Regions from separate parts of the Homo sapiens genome. Here all the other regions are linked to region 1. Evidence: promoter capture Hi-C in 16 types of primary human blood cells and fetal thymus (Javierre and others, 2016). All regions are on one chromosome and are shown on one strand. Each heading gives the region's core, a stretch centred on a gene start or on the middle of the fragment in contact. The rest is flanking DNA. Distances are from core to core; before and after follow the strand shown. Region 1 holds the start of EIF1AX-AS1 (EIF1AX antisense RNA 1). Region 2 overlaps PDHA1 (pyruvate dehydrogenase E1 subunit alpha 1). Region 3 has its middle 3.8 kb from the start of PDHA1. Region 4 overlaps SH3KBP1 (SH3 domain containing kinase binding protein 1). Region 5 overlaps SH3KBP1 (SH3 domain containing kinase binding protein 1).

What was found. The method cuts DNA at HindIII sites, captures the fragments that hold promoters and counts their contacts. A CHiCAGO score of 5 or more calls a contact.
Region 2: a fragment that was not itself captured here is called in contact with the fragment with the promoter of EIF1AX-AS1 in region 1 in 1 of 17 cell types (neutrophils); the score reaches 10.2 in neutrophils.
Region 3: a contact is called between a fragment that was not itself captured here and the fragment with the promoter of EIF1AX-AS1 in region 1, in 6 of 17 cell types (neutrophils, total CD4 T cells, total CD8 T cells and 3 more). The highest score is 9.0, in neutrophils.
Region 4: a contact is called between a fragment that was not itself captured here and the fragment with the promoter of EIF1AX-AS1 in region 1, in 1 of 17 cell types (activated CD4 T cells). The highest score is 5.7, in activated CD4 T cells.
Region 5: a fragment that was not itself captured here is called in contact with the fragment with the promoter of EIF1AX-AS1 in region 1 in 1 of 17 cell types (naive CD4 T cells); the score reaches 5.6 in naive CD4 T cells.

Annotation. Positions count from the first base shown.
Region 1 is chrX:20,138,679-20,141,378 of GRCh38, reverse strand. It overlaps EIF1AX-AS1 (EIF1AX antisense RNA 1), which reads right to left and starts at 1,411. Exons shown (of 2, transcript NR_046592.2): 1 at 1,144-1,411; 2 at 935-1,044. The region is part of intron 1 of EIF1AX (eukaryotic translation initiation factor 1A X-linked); the gene reads left to right. RefSeq lists an enhancer at 140-299. The HindIII fragment of the contact is 4,524 bases long and covers 1-1,835 here.
Region 2 is chrX:19,357,922-19,360,621 of GRCh38, reverse strand. It overlaps PDHA1 (pyruvate dehydrogenase E1 subunit alpha 1), which reads right to left. Exons shown (of 11, transcript NM_000284.4): 10 at 1,598-1,706; 11 at 1-1,133. The coding sequence ends at 969. MAP3K15 (mitogen-activated protein kinase kinase kinase 15) reads left to right here. Exons shown (of 29, transcript NM_001001671.4): 29 at 1-563. Among named protein-coding and RNA genes, the nearest start is that of PDHA1, 15 kb to the right of the region's middle. The HindIII fragment of the contact is 2,804 bases long and covers 1-2,700 here.
Region 3 is chrX:19,338,745-19,341,444 of GRCh38, reverse strand. No RefSeq gene overlaps it. Among named protein-coding and RNA genes, the nearest start is that of PDHA1, 3.8 kb to the left of the region's middle. The HindIII fragment of the contact is 5,401 bases long and covers 1-2,700 here.
Region 4 is chrX:19,613,519-19,616,218 of GRCh38, reverse strand. The region is part of intron 8 of SH3KBP1 (SH3 domain containing kinase binding protein 1); the gene reads left to right. Among named protein-coding and RNA genes, the nearest start is that of MAP3K15, 99 kb to the right of the region's middle. The HindIII fragment of the contact is 387 bases long and covers 1,160-1,546 here.
Region 5 is chrX:19,562,701-19,565,400 of GRCh38, reverse strand. The region is part of intron 13 of SH3KBP1 (SH3 domain containing kinase binding protein 1); the gene reads left to right. Among named protein-coding and RNA genes, the nearest start is that of MAP3K15, 49 kb to the right of the region's middle. The HindIII fragment of the contact is 4,351 bases long and covers 1-2,700 here.

The DNA of each region.
Region 1 (2,700 bases), core at 162-2,661:
TGGGCTTTTGCTCCTGATTCGCGCCAGACTGACCGCTGCTCGGTGGGGACGGTGGCGGGAACCTTCCCCGGGGCGGCCTAGGTTTAGTAGATAGGCCCCTTTGGCCTTCCCGGGCATGAGGGGTTATAATCCCTGGAAGCCGTTCTGAACTTTCAGAGTGCTGTCTGCATTCGTGAGCACCAGGTACTCCTGCATGGGTTTCTTTATGGACAGTTCAGTATTGTTGAGGCTACTCGCTGTCCCTTGTGAACAGTGGGTGAAACCTTGATACATTTCTAAGGCTCACCTCTAGAGATTTACTCTCTCCATCCCTTTACAGGATATAGCTTATGTTTGTTTGCTGAAGACTTATTCCATATTGAGCCAAGTTTTCTACTTTTGCTTCAGATGATGCATATGTTGTGAGAATAAAGACCTAATTTAAGTGTCCTCCATTCTGAGGCTAAGCGTTCACAAATGATCAGACTTGAGGATAACTTTATTTGGGATTTCCAAAACGGAAGGCCTAATCTTAAAAAAAAAAAAACAAAAACAAAAAACAGAACACTCCTAAAGAAATTACTTTTATAGATTTACAGTGTTCCTGTCATTTTTAATAGCCGTATAACTTGAAGAAAATTGTGCAAGTAAATATAGGGAAAATACTGTATTTTCCTACAGGAGAGGAGCATACTTCATAGTCCGTAAGTAGTCTCCTTTGATTATTCATTCTAGAGGAAACCCTCCCCTGACACAGGCCTACTTCTGCTCTCTTTTCTACTTGACAGCTGGCTCCAGGGATTCTACCACATTTCCTCTTTGTAGCTGTCACTTATTACTTTATCCCTTAGGGTACTTGGTCGAGGTGTTCTGTGCACAAGTTGGTGCAGTCACTGCTCATTATTTTGGAAAAGATGGAGTTATAAACAAAAAATTTTAAAGTCTTACAGTTTTCTTCTGTATAATCCTTTATTCTCTCTGAGGTGGTAAGGGGATCACTTCCATCTTATTCTCACCTTTATTTCTAGTAATAAGATTTCCAATTCTTCCACCAGGCTGTAAGCTCTACAAGGCAGGAATAGTATCTGTCTTAATCTCATTGGATTGCCAGCACTTGACAATTAGTAGATGCTTAATAAATATTTGTTGGTTTAAGTCACCTACCTCCTGTCGACTCCACCCTTAGTGAATAATAGGTTCTGCTTTGGTTCCAAGGGGATAGGACTTCTACACTAAATCACATCTAGTTCCCTAGCCTCATGTCTTAAGAAAGAGCCTCTCTGGGAATTTCTCCAAAACAACTCTGGTTTAAAGAATGTTGATGTCACTTTAATTGTTGTACACTCAGACCTAGTCTCATTCATTCAACAGAGAATTTAAAGAACATCCCATTACATGGCAATAAAATACAAAGGGGAGTGATCCGGGTATGGTTAATTCTGGTAAATTGACAAGTAATTAGTCTTTTCTTAAATAACATTTGAGGCATACAAAAAATACAGCTAACATGATATACCTGGGAACCCATTACTCTGAATTTAAGAATTACAGCGCAGATTGAGGTAAAGCCCTAATCACCTTTTACTCTCTTTTTGGAGGTAATCACCAGGCTGAGTTTGGTGTTTATCATTCCTGTACTGTCTGAAACCAATCAGTTCTTAGTTATCTTACTTAGAGGAATGGTACTTTTCATGACCTAATTTAAGTGTCCTCCATTTTTTTTTGCTGCTTCCAAGCTCTTCCCATGAGTCTCTTAGGGTCATTACCACTTACAGCCTTTTTCCTGCCTTTTGGAAATGGCTGCCAATGTGGTTTCCTTTCTGGAATGGGAGCAAAATGCTGTGGAGAGGTAAGCTTATGTGGGGGCTAGGGGCAAAAAAAACATTGTGACTTTGGTCACCCCAGCTTACTGACTGTAATCAGTGAACTGATTTACTCACTGAAGCTAAGCGACTTACTTAACTTCTCTGAGCTTCAGGGAACTCATGGGTAAACTGGGAATAAATGAATGTTATGACCTCATGGGGTGATTGTGACAAGTAAATGGGCAGAATTATTGCATAGTGGTTAAGAGCATGGTCACTGGGGTCATATAATAGAAACAGGGATGTTGAGTAGGGACCAGCATTATAAAAGAAAGTAAATTGGGTACCGAACAGATCTTCTTTATTTTTTAAGAGACAGTGTCTCGCTATGTTGCCCAGGCTAGCCTGGAACCTCCTGGGCTTGCTCAAGTGATCCTCCCACCTGAGCCTCCTGAGTAGCTGAGACCCTAGGCGCACACCACTGCACCCAGTGAGATTTCAATATTTATGGTACTCTGCTACCAAAAGTTTGAAAACCACAGTTCTCTGTCCAGACACTGTCTTCACTTAATTTTGAAAGTATCGGGTTCCTTGCATAGGGCCTGGCTTTAGAAGACACCCAAGATTTCCGCTTAGAAGAATATGTATAGAATTGCATTTTTATTTCAAAAGGATGGGTGCTAAAGTGAAATGTTTTTCTATATTTTTTAACATAATATCTGCTATTTATGTGTATTTTATGTCAGAAAAATCCCCAAAGGAAATTCCAAGAAGGGTAGGGAGGTGATAATGTGTTAATGTTGGGATTGGAGATTGTAAATTTAATATGATTGTGTAGCTAAAATAGATGAATTTTTTAATTTAAGTGATCTTTTAAAAAATGGTTTTATAAGCCTTAATTTCATTTTATTTCATA
Region 2 (2,700 bases), core at 84-2,583, 780 kb after region 1:
AAGAACTTGTTTTAAATACTGTCCTGAGTTTCTTTTGAAACCTGTTATTTATAAACATAGAACTGTGTGTATTGTGAAAACAGTGAGCCTTGGTTTTGACCTCCCGGAATATTAGGAAATTCACTTGTAGTCCCAGCTATGCAGGAGGCTGAGGTGGGAGGATTGCTTGAGCCCAGGAGGTGTGGAGGCTGCAGTGAGCCATGATCACACCACTGCACTCCAGCCTGGGCAACAGAGCCCGACCCTGTCTCAAAAAAAGTACACCCTTCAGCACTTGCTGGAATGGTGAAACAAACAAGGGGTATTTAACAAACATGGAAGCTGGGACACTGCCTCAGAACTGGTATGGTACTTCAATTTGAGAAACACAAAACTGATACGAATGTGCCTTGTAGTTAATGTTTGATATGAACAGAAAATAGCTTCATATTTATACTGAATGTGTAAGTAGAGAAAACTAAGTTATGTGGCCTTTGAAATGATTACAAAATTGGAATGATTACAAAAGTCTTATTTTAAAATGGAACTGTCCTCTTGCCTGATAATAAATATTGTATCTTGTAGAGAAATGGTCAGCGCGAACAGGCTGCAGCACCAGCGCTGCTCGGGGTGGGTGCTATGGTTGGTAGAATGCTGTGAGGGGCCCCGCCATAATGGTCTCCTCCCAAAAAGGTGGCTGGGGGCAGGGGAAACAGGCATACAAGGAATTGTTCTTCCTTTTCATAATTAGAGTATTTGTTCAAAGTATACTATTTTAAGTCAAAAATAATCTTTAAGCACTCAATAATTCATCTTTTAATGCACTAATGTACAAACTGCATGCAATTACTACCTGCTCAATCTACACACTTAATGGAAGTTTCCAAGAATTTCATTGAATTTCATTGACTGGGTTTTCTTCCTCCTTAACCAAGTTGAGAACACTGTCTGGTAGCCCCCTGAAGGTATAACCTCTCCTTCTCCTCCCCTTAACTGACTGACTTAAACTTGATCCACTGATTGGCACCACGAACTTCAAAAGGTGGGTCGCTGGAGTAGATGTGGTAGCCCAGCTCTTCCAAAGGTGGCTCAGGATCGGCCGTGGCAAACTGGGCAGCATCCTCAATCTCCTTCCTCACTTCCACATCAATTTCCTAAAAATTAGGTAACAGTGTAAAAGGTTTTAGAATGAACAGCAGCTTAGGTACCAACTAGAGTTCTGCTGAGGACCTGTTGCTGGTGTAACTCTTTAACTACAAGTACGAACAGTTGCTAATTCAGAAGATTTTGGAATACAGATTTCTAGGGTGTATCTATTTTATGAATTAAAAATCCACAGTATACTTTTAGGAAAAAAGAACCATACTACTGTGGGGGCTTTGCCACTGTGATGGTGGTTCACAGTCCACCAAAATCTGAAATCTGAAGAGTAATACAATTTTGAATAGAGGAAACTAAAGGAAAAGCCCCCACCCCAAGGGACTTTGGAACTATGGAACTATTTATGTCCCAGGACATCACTTTCTGGGCTTGGAGGAACCCACACAAACTCTGTGGCCACCCAGGGGTGGCAACTTTTAAAGCCAACCTTCAAACCACCATGAACAAGTGACTGTACCTTTAGTTCTTCCACACTGGCAAGATTGCTGTTCACCATCCTGTCCTTGAGAAGCATAATAGGGTCACTCTTACTTCTTACTTCCTGAATTTCTTCTCGTGTACGGTAACTATGGGGAGGGAAAAGTAGTAATCGATCAGTAAGAGCAGTTCCAGTAGAGCAAGGACGGCGTGATGAAACATGATATGGGGTTGGATTGTCCCAATGAGGTGAAATACAGAAGTGTGTTTCTGAAACAAAGGGGCATACCAATGCTTATGTCACTATAGGCGTGGCAGAGTTGTTGTTATACTTTCAAAATACCAGAACGCAGCCTAACATTCTGTAATAACTGCTTCTGTCTTTTCTAGAAAACCGTACACTGGTGAGTCACATGGCTTCCCTGGCATTCCGACAACAGGGGCCAAGTTTTTGCTTGCTGCTTTGATTTAGATGTAAGGTTCTAAAGAAGTGTCACTTGTCCCACCCATTTGGGCTCCTGTATACTACATGGGTGGGGACAGCAGAGATGGTGTGTGTGGTGATAATTAGACTTTGAGACATCAGAGCGCCAAGCAGGAAATCCATGTGCCTTGCCTTTCTCCCTTAAGTCCCCCTAAAGAAGCACAGCCAGCAAAACCAATGTATCTTATGCCTATATCATCTGAAGTAACACTAAAAGGATTCTACCATTTTCAACAATAGATTTACACAAAGTGCATTTTTCCATATACTGTGCTCTCTACATGATTTTTCCTTAGAAGTCCACTCTACAAAGGCTTATTTATTCAACTGTGTCAAAACTGGGATTCCAGAATCACAGGCCAGAGCTACTAAGCAAAAAAGTAAAATTCATGCCTTCCTAGTGGAACCTAGCTTTTTTGATTGATGTATTTCAACGGATTGAACACCCAGTTACCCTTAGCTCTATACCAGACAGAGGAACATCTCCAAATTCTGATCCTCTTCAGGTAGAGTATGCCAGGTGTAGACTTGGGGTAATGCCTACAAAAGCTAAATGCCCCCAAGATACTACACTACCATCAGCCCTGTTTTATGTAACAATTTCCCTCTACAATTAAGGTATATAACACTCTTTCTTTAAAAATTGCTGCTTGTGCTCA
Region 3 (2,700 bases), core at 19-2,518, 800 kb after region 1:
TGTATTTTTCGTAGAGACAGGGTTTCACCATGTTAGACAGTATGGTCTTGATCTCCTGACCTCGTGATCCGCCCGTCTCAGCCTCCCAAAGTGCTGGGATTATAGGCATGAGACACTGCGCCCGGCCTCTTTTTTTTTTTTTTTTTTTTGAGACAGATTCTCACTCTGTTGCCCAGGATGGAGTACAGTGGTGACATCTTGGCTCACTGCAACATCTGACTCCCAGGTTCAAGTGATACTCCTCATTCAGCCTCCCGAGTAGCTGGGAAAACGGGCGAGCACCACCATGCCCGACTAATTTTGTATTTTTTTAGTAGAGACGGGGTTTCACCATGTTGGCCAGGCTGGTCTCAAACTCCTGACCTCAGGTGATCTGCCCACCTTGGCCTCCCAAAGTGCTGGGATTACAGGTGTGAGCCACCGCGCCCAGCTGTTTTCAGATATTTGAAAGCAGAGTTGGAAGCAACTTTGAAGGTGAGGGACACTGTGAGATGCTGTGTCAAGTGGTGACAGGTGATGATTGTGGTTAATAGTCATTAACTATAGGCTATAGTAACGTTATAGTAATGTTATAGTCATTAACTATAGGCTATAATAACTATAGGCTATAGTAACGCGCTAGAACATTCACAAAAGACTCTTGTATCAGGAGAGGAGGCCGGAGAGAAAGAAAGATTTGCAAAAGGCGGGAAGAGAAAGTCTTAAGAAAGGAGGGCTCGTTAATCTTGGGGGAAATTGTAATCCCAGCACTTTGGGAGACCAAGGCAGGAGGATCACTTGAGGCCAGGAGTTTGAGGCCAGCCTGGGCCACAAAGTGATACTCGTCTGTACAAAAAATAAAATAATTAGTCTGGTATGGTGTTGCATGCCTGTAGTCCCAGCTACTAGGGATGCTGACGAGGGAGGATTGCTTGAGCCTAGGAGTTTGAGGCTGCAGTAAGCTATGGCGGCATCGCTGCATGGCGGCCTGGGTGACAGGGCGAGACCCCATCTCTCTAAAAAACAAAACAAAAAAAACGTATCTGGGTGAAGCAGGGCAATTTTGATTAGAGACCCTGAAATATGCCTTTTTACCTTTCGTTAGCGAATCACCCTACAAGTATTCGATCAAGCTGAGCTTTAAGGCAAATCATGCTCCTTGACATGTCTCCGGTTTTCCAGTAAGAAACACCCATCCCCCAGCAGATGAATTAGAGTAGGACAATCATATACATGTGTCATAAAAGTCAACAAATCTTTGCAAATGTCTTTGAGGTACTAAGCAGCAGCTGGTGAAAGGATTATGGCTAGGGGTCATTTTAACTTTGGAACCATATAAATGTTTTTACACGACCATAAAACACAATGACATAACAATGGAAATGAAATATAACAAACCAATTTAATAACATACCAAGTTGTCAGCATAACCCCGCAGAGAATGATTTCAAGTTATTTCACACCACAGCAATGTGACTGCATATGCCTGGTGGGGTATAGCCTAAAGACAAAAGGAACTGGAAAAAAAAATCTTAAGGCGAGGCTCACACCTGTAATCCTAGCACTTTGGGAGGCTGAGGTGGGAGGATCATTTGAACCCGGGAGTTTGAGACCAGCCTAGGCAACATAGGGAGACCCCATCTCTACAGAAAAAAATCTTAAATTGTTCTCATTTGTCAGGTGTTATTATTTAAGACTGCACATACCCACACTGATAAAGTAAATATATAATTATGTTAATGCCATTGGGAACCAAGATTTTCAGTATAAAAAACAGAGACACAAATGTAAAATTCAACAGGTCAAAGCCAAGAGGTCCTGAATTTGAATTGGAAATATCAGTATAAACTCATGATTATTTCCCCCCCTCAAGATACACACACACACACACACACACACACATACATACATCTTGGCTAGGCTCGGTAGCTCACACTTGTAATCCCAGTACTTTAGGAGGCCAAGGTGGGCAGATCACTTGAGCTCAGGAGTTCAAGACCAGCCTGGGCAACATGGTAAGACCCTGTCTCTACACGATATAAAAAATTAGCCGGCCATGGTGGCGCATACCAGCAGTCCTAGCTACTAGGGAGGCCAAGGTAGGAGGATCACCTGTGCCTGGGAAGTGGAGGCTGCAGTGAGCCATCATCGTGCCAGTGCACTCTAGCCTGAGCAACAGAATGAGACTGTGTCTCAAAGCAAAAACGATGTGTGTGTGTGTGTGTGTGTGTGTGTATGTGTGTGTGTATCTTAACTCTCTCCACTGGAAATACCTAGAAGCAAAGACCAGCCCAATAGTAATTATTCTGAAATCTGGCAAAGGGAAAGAACCAAGGATTTATCCTGTCTTTCTTACATAGACTGAATTTCAATGTCAACAAACAGTTGATGAGGAATAGTTCTTTATAGAATAATTTCCAGCAGTAAATAAAAAAGGAACCATATAATTTTAATATCCCTGTGTTGTAACCCCTGAGGAAGTACTAGATCAAGCTGTTGGGGGATTTGTAATGTTTGGGCGGCTTTAACAAAATACGTGAGACTGGGTAACTTATAAACAACAAACACTGATTGGGCTTGATGGCTCATACCTGTAATCTTAGCACTTTCCGAGGCTGAGGCAGGTGGATTGCTTGAGCCCAGGAATTTGAGACCAACCTAGCAAACGTGGTGAAACCCCATCTCTACAAAAAAGACAAAAATTATCTGGGCATAGTGGCA
Region 4 (2,700 bases), core at 104-2,603, 530 kb after region 1:
GGGCCGAGGCGGGCAGATCACTTGAGTTTAGGAATTTGAGACTAGCCTGGGTAACATGGCAAGACCCTGACTCTACAAAAAATTAAAAAATTAGCCATGCATGATGGAGTATGCCTGTAGTCTTGGCTGCTCGAGAGACTGAGTGGAAGGATTGCTTGAGCCTGAGAGGTCAAGGCTGCAGTGAGCCATGATGTATTTATCCTTCTGTATAAAGACGTTCAACAATGGCTCTACTTTGGAATGCCACTGCACTCCAGCCTGGGCAACAGAGTGAGGCCCCGTCTAAAAAAAAAAAAAAAAAGTGAATGACTGCCTAAGCCTTAGTTATCCTGTGATGTTGGCATTTGGAATGTAGTGTTTTCTTGAGTAAGCTCGTCCCTAGGACTGTCTCCTCAGGCTTCTTTCTTTACTTTTGGCCTGCCAGGCATTGCTTCTGACACTGAATAGTAGTCAGTGTAGTCCTCGTTTTTTCTTCTTACCTTATAAACCATGATATGTGGCTGAGCCTCCTTTAGTAACTGATTTATGGGGATGTAGAAAATTCTGAGAGAAATCCCAGCCATGCAGAATAATTGCATCTCTTGGGGAGGTGTTAACAAGCAGAGGCAGAGATGAGTGCTTCTGGGCCCCGGCTTCCATGGAACTTTCGCTCAATAGCCCCCACCCCTAAGCTCTATGCAGAAGGCGTTCATTAGCAAATATTAAATGCCTGTTTCCATACTGCTGGTGGATGCTGAGGGTGTGAGGCCCTCTGGGGGCATGCTGAGGCTCACTTAACAGCCTCACCCAAATTGTCCAACACTCATTTTCTCCTCAAATGATATCAGGGAAGGTCATGAAGAACAGCCATGCTGGATAACTTCTGGGAAATTGGGACTGGGGAGCCTGGGGGCAGCTGACCACCAGAAGTGACTGAGCAGAATACATTTCTTTTTCGTTTGCATCAAGTGGTGTACCCATTTTTATGTTTTCAGTTTTTGGTTTGAAATGTCTGTTTCTAAGCTGCATGTTCCCATTTGAACTCAAAGAAGACACTTACAATGCCTGAGAAAATGTAGCCTTCCTTTTTGGGGTAATTTTAAAGTTTTTGCCACAATTTTGAATAAATAATAAATTCAGAACAGATCAGCAGGTAAAGCCTGATCATATAGATGAAGCTTCCTTTGTGTAGGAATTCTATACCTGCTTCCCCCTTGTTCAGTTTGACCTCACTTCTGATGTTTGAAAGTGGAGAGAAGTGGAACAACAGTCTGGAGGAAGATTGGGTCATTCATCTATTCAGTCAACATTTATTCAGAATTGACATGTTCCGGGCACTACGGCAGGAATTAGATGGAGACAGAGGTGTGAAGATAAGAATCCTCATTTTCAAGGAGCTTATCGTTTTCAGGAACCTTGTGACTCAAAGTATGGTCCACGGAGTAGCGGCATTGGCATCACCTGGGAACCTCTTAGAAGTGTAGAATCTCAGACTTGCCCCAGACCTACTGAATTTGAATTGGCATTTTCACAAAATCCCTAAGTGAGAAGCATGCACATTAAAGCTTGAGAAGCGTTCCTCTTAAATCACTGATTCTCAGCCTACACACTGGAAAAACCTAGGGACATTGTAAAAGCACTGATTTCCTGTGCCCATTCCCCACCCCCAAATTGTGATTTAATGGGTATGGAGTCTGGCCCAGACATCGGCATTTTCTTTTAAATTCCCAGGTGATTCTAAATGTGCAGACAGGTGTGAGAGCCACTCATCTAGTACATGGCTTTGTACTCTTGACAAAACAGCCCAAGATGAGATTGTAGCTCATTCTGTTAACCAATGTACAAGCTAGGTGGCAAGTTTGTCTTTTCTACAGATTTGAAGTGCCTAGACTAGAGGTAGGCACACCAGGTCTCACGTGCCCTCTCTGTGCCCACAGGTTGTATGTCAGGGAGTCGCTCTCAGCTGTGTGGAGCACTTCGGCCAGGTTACACGGGGCCATGCTGGCAAGATTGAACAGACTGAGGCCCGATACTGAAGTCTGGGCAAGGCCTCCTTCCTCAGACACACCCCGGGGCCTTGGCATCCCTCCCCTTGGACCCCCTCCAAGTGTGTGAGCTGCTGCCAGGGGGTTTCACCTGAGGCAGCAGGGACTAGGAGTGGCTCCTTGGCACTCGAGGATGGCGCTGGGTCGCATGACAAATGCACATGAGTGTAATTAAGCAGCTCTCCTGGTCACATTGTCCCTCAGGGATTCGGACCAGGCCATATAATCACGATGATGACAATAACAACAACCAGCTCTTGTGTCACTCTTTATACTTTGCAAAGATTTTCACATGTGTCAGGAAACCGAGATCCAGGGAGCTTTCGTCACTAGGGAACAGCTTAAGTGTCACATGGCCCATGCTTGCTCTGTTCCACCTCTCTCTGAGTTCCACTTGAACATGTCAGGCAAAATAAGGAATGGCTCCCTTGTGACAAAGTGAGTTCCCTGTTATAAGCAGTATGCTAGGAGGGAGTAGATAACCTGAGATGTAGCAGAACGCAGAGGCTGGACTACACAACGCCTAATGCTCAATTCATTCATTCCTTAAAAGGAAAAACATCATTTGCATTTTATAGGGAAAAGTATATGTTACCCTAATATCTCCCTGGTGTTGAGGCATAGAGAAACCATTTTGGCCATTTTAAGGACTTGAGTTTGAAAGAGTAAAAATGAT
Region 5 (2,700 bases), core at 44-2,543, 580 kb after region 1:
TGAGCAAGATTATCTGGCTAGTAAGAAATTGGAGTTGAAGGCCAGGCGCGGTGGCTTACACCTGTAATCCCAGCGCTTTGGGAGGCCAAGGCGGGCAGATCACCTGAGGTCAGGAGTTCGAGACCAGCCTGGCCAACATGGTGAAACCCTGTCTCTACTAAAAATACAGAAATTAGCTGGGTGTGGTGGTAGGCGCCTGTAATCCCAGCTACTTGGGAGGCTGAGGCAGGAGAATCGCTTGAACCCGGGAGGCGGAGGTTGCAGTGAGCCAAGATTGCACCACTGCACTCCAGCCTGGGGGACAAGAGCGAGACTTCGCCTCAAAAAAAAAAAAAAAAAAAAAAAAAAATTGGAGTTGAAGCCAGGTCTCTCTGACCCATGAGCCCAAACCTTCTAGGTCCACATCAGCATTTCTCAACTGCTCTCCCCAAGGGGACATTTGGCAATGTCTGGAGACATTTTTGACTGTCACATCATAGGGGTGGGGGTGGAGATGCTACTGGCATCTAGTGGATAGAGGCCAAGGATGCTGCTAACCATCCACCAGTGTGTAGGATAGCCCCCACAGACAACAAAGAATGACCCAGCCCCAAATGTCAATAGCACCGAGGCCCAGAGAGCCCAGTCTGTGTTAGGAACAGGAAGAGGACAGGCTTCCCCTGCAAGTGCAACTTGTGTTCCCTGGAGTGGCCTGTCTCATTTCCTGAGAATCTCTATAAAACCTAGTTTGAAAATATTTCATATACAAAAAAGTAATTATATTTGAAGTAATTAAACATCAACCAAGGACATGACTGTGACCTTTGTGAGAGAGAAAGAGGAAGGGGGGGGAGAGAGAGAGAGAGGCGAGAGAAGAGAGGGGAGAGGGGCCATCTTAAGGCTTGCAGCAAGTGAAATGATACCATTTGAGTCTGATTTCAAATAGAAAGAGTATTGGATTTGTGATTAGATATTTGCCAAAGATCAACTACCCAGTGTTTAAACGGGTATTACATAAAAGGACAATAACAAATTTGATCAATACTAAGTTCTAAATCTGTACTCTGTATGGTAAAGTTATACAGGAGAGCAAGAGAGAGCAATTGTAATAGCGACCATTAACACAACATTTTTGTGAATGTGACACCAAATGTCTACAAACAAGTGATTACATTCTTACCTTATTTTGCAATTTCTACCTTTCATGATAATAAATCACTTCTAAGGGTTTCTCATACAAATTTTGAGGAAAAATTCAGATCTCCTGACTTGGGGCTATTGGTTTTTCTGTCCTGTTTTTAAAATACATATTTTAAACTTCCCCTTTTGGAGCCAGAGAGCCAGTTATTGGTCCTTGCAGCATGTCAGATCATTGAGCAATTGCTCAGGTTCAATAAAACAAGATATACTGTGTCCTGCCTGCCATTAAAAAAAAACAAAAACCCATGAATGACACTTGGAGTGTTCCAGATTGACTACTGGCTGAGCGTGTGTGTGAACAACAGCCGCGCCTTCCAGCTCTCTCGGGATTAGTTGCTCAGACATGAGAACTTTCACTGAAGAGCCACGGCTGGCTCCTACAGACACTGTCTCCTTACTGGCAACCTTCAGACACAGCCTTTGGGACCAAGGACATGGTTGATGTTACCTGTGCTGAAGAACAGGAGATACGGTTGCTACTGGTCTACAGTCAAGTCTGCATATGACGGGCTGCGGTGCCCATGTGTGGACGTGTGCAGCTCCGGTCCCTATCTAGGGACACAAATCGTGATCAAACTTAAATTTTTGTCAGGAGTAGCTGAAAAGCACTATACATTTCTCAAGTGTGATGACAGAAAGCAAAAGAGATTGTGCTGAGGGTCAAACGCTTTATACAAAGGAAGTGAAACAGGTTGCGCTTCTGATTGATGGGTTTTTAACCCAGGCAATCCTCTGAGCATTTTGGGTTCCTTCCTCGAACTTACAGAGGCGTAGCTAATTCAGAACAGCTTCTGTGGATGGCCTTCTCCCTGCATCGCCCTTGAGCCCTCCCCTGGTTCCCAGCCTCTCAGGCTCACAGTGGAGGTGTGCTGCTGAGGAAACAAGGTCAAGTTGGCAACCAGCACTCATTTCGAAAGGCATCCTCCAGTCCTACAGGAGATGGTCCTTCAGGGCCCTTTGAAGGGCCTGATCTTGGGTGTAAAATGAGCATCTCCACTTAGACTTTCTCAGTCAAAGATGTTGATCCTCACCAGAACCGAGGTGCTCACCTCTGCCTGTGCACCTTGCACAGGGCGGTCCTGCTGGCCTTTGGTGGTCCATCACGGTGGCTGGGTTTGTGCTTAGTTATGAGGGTCTTCACGAACATCTTTTACCCCATAACATCCCATAAGCGCAAACTCAGTAAACATTGAAAGTGCCTGTAGGAAAAGCCTCACAAATGCTATAGAAACAGGGGGAGATTACGTCAAAGTGGGGACATGATGGCAAATGTTGCAGAACCTCACTGCAGCAGTGCATTTGGTGGTATGAATTATTCCAATATACAGAGAGCAAATTAGTACTGTCCTACCCAAGTGCTCTATACCCACCAGCCTGCAAAATAGCTGACCTGAGAGAGGTGGAGGGACATTTAGGGAGCATCAATTCAGATGGCTGTTGGCTTGGAGAGGGTCACAGAGGCTAGTAGCTGTGTGGACTTGCAGGCAGCCCCAAATGCTCACCTATGTGCAGAGTCAGCAT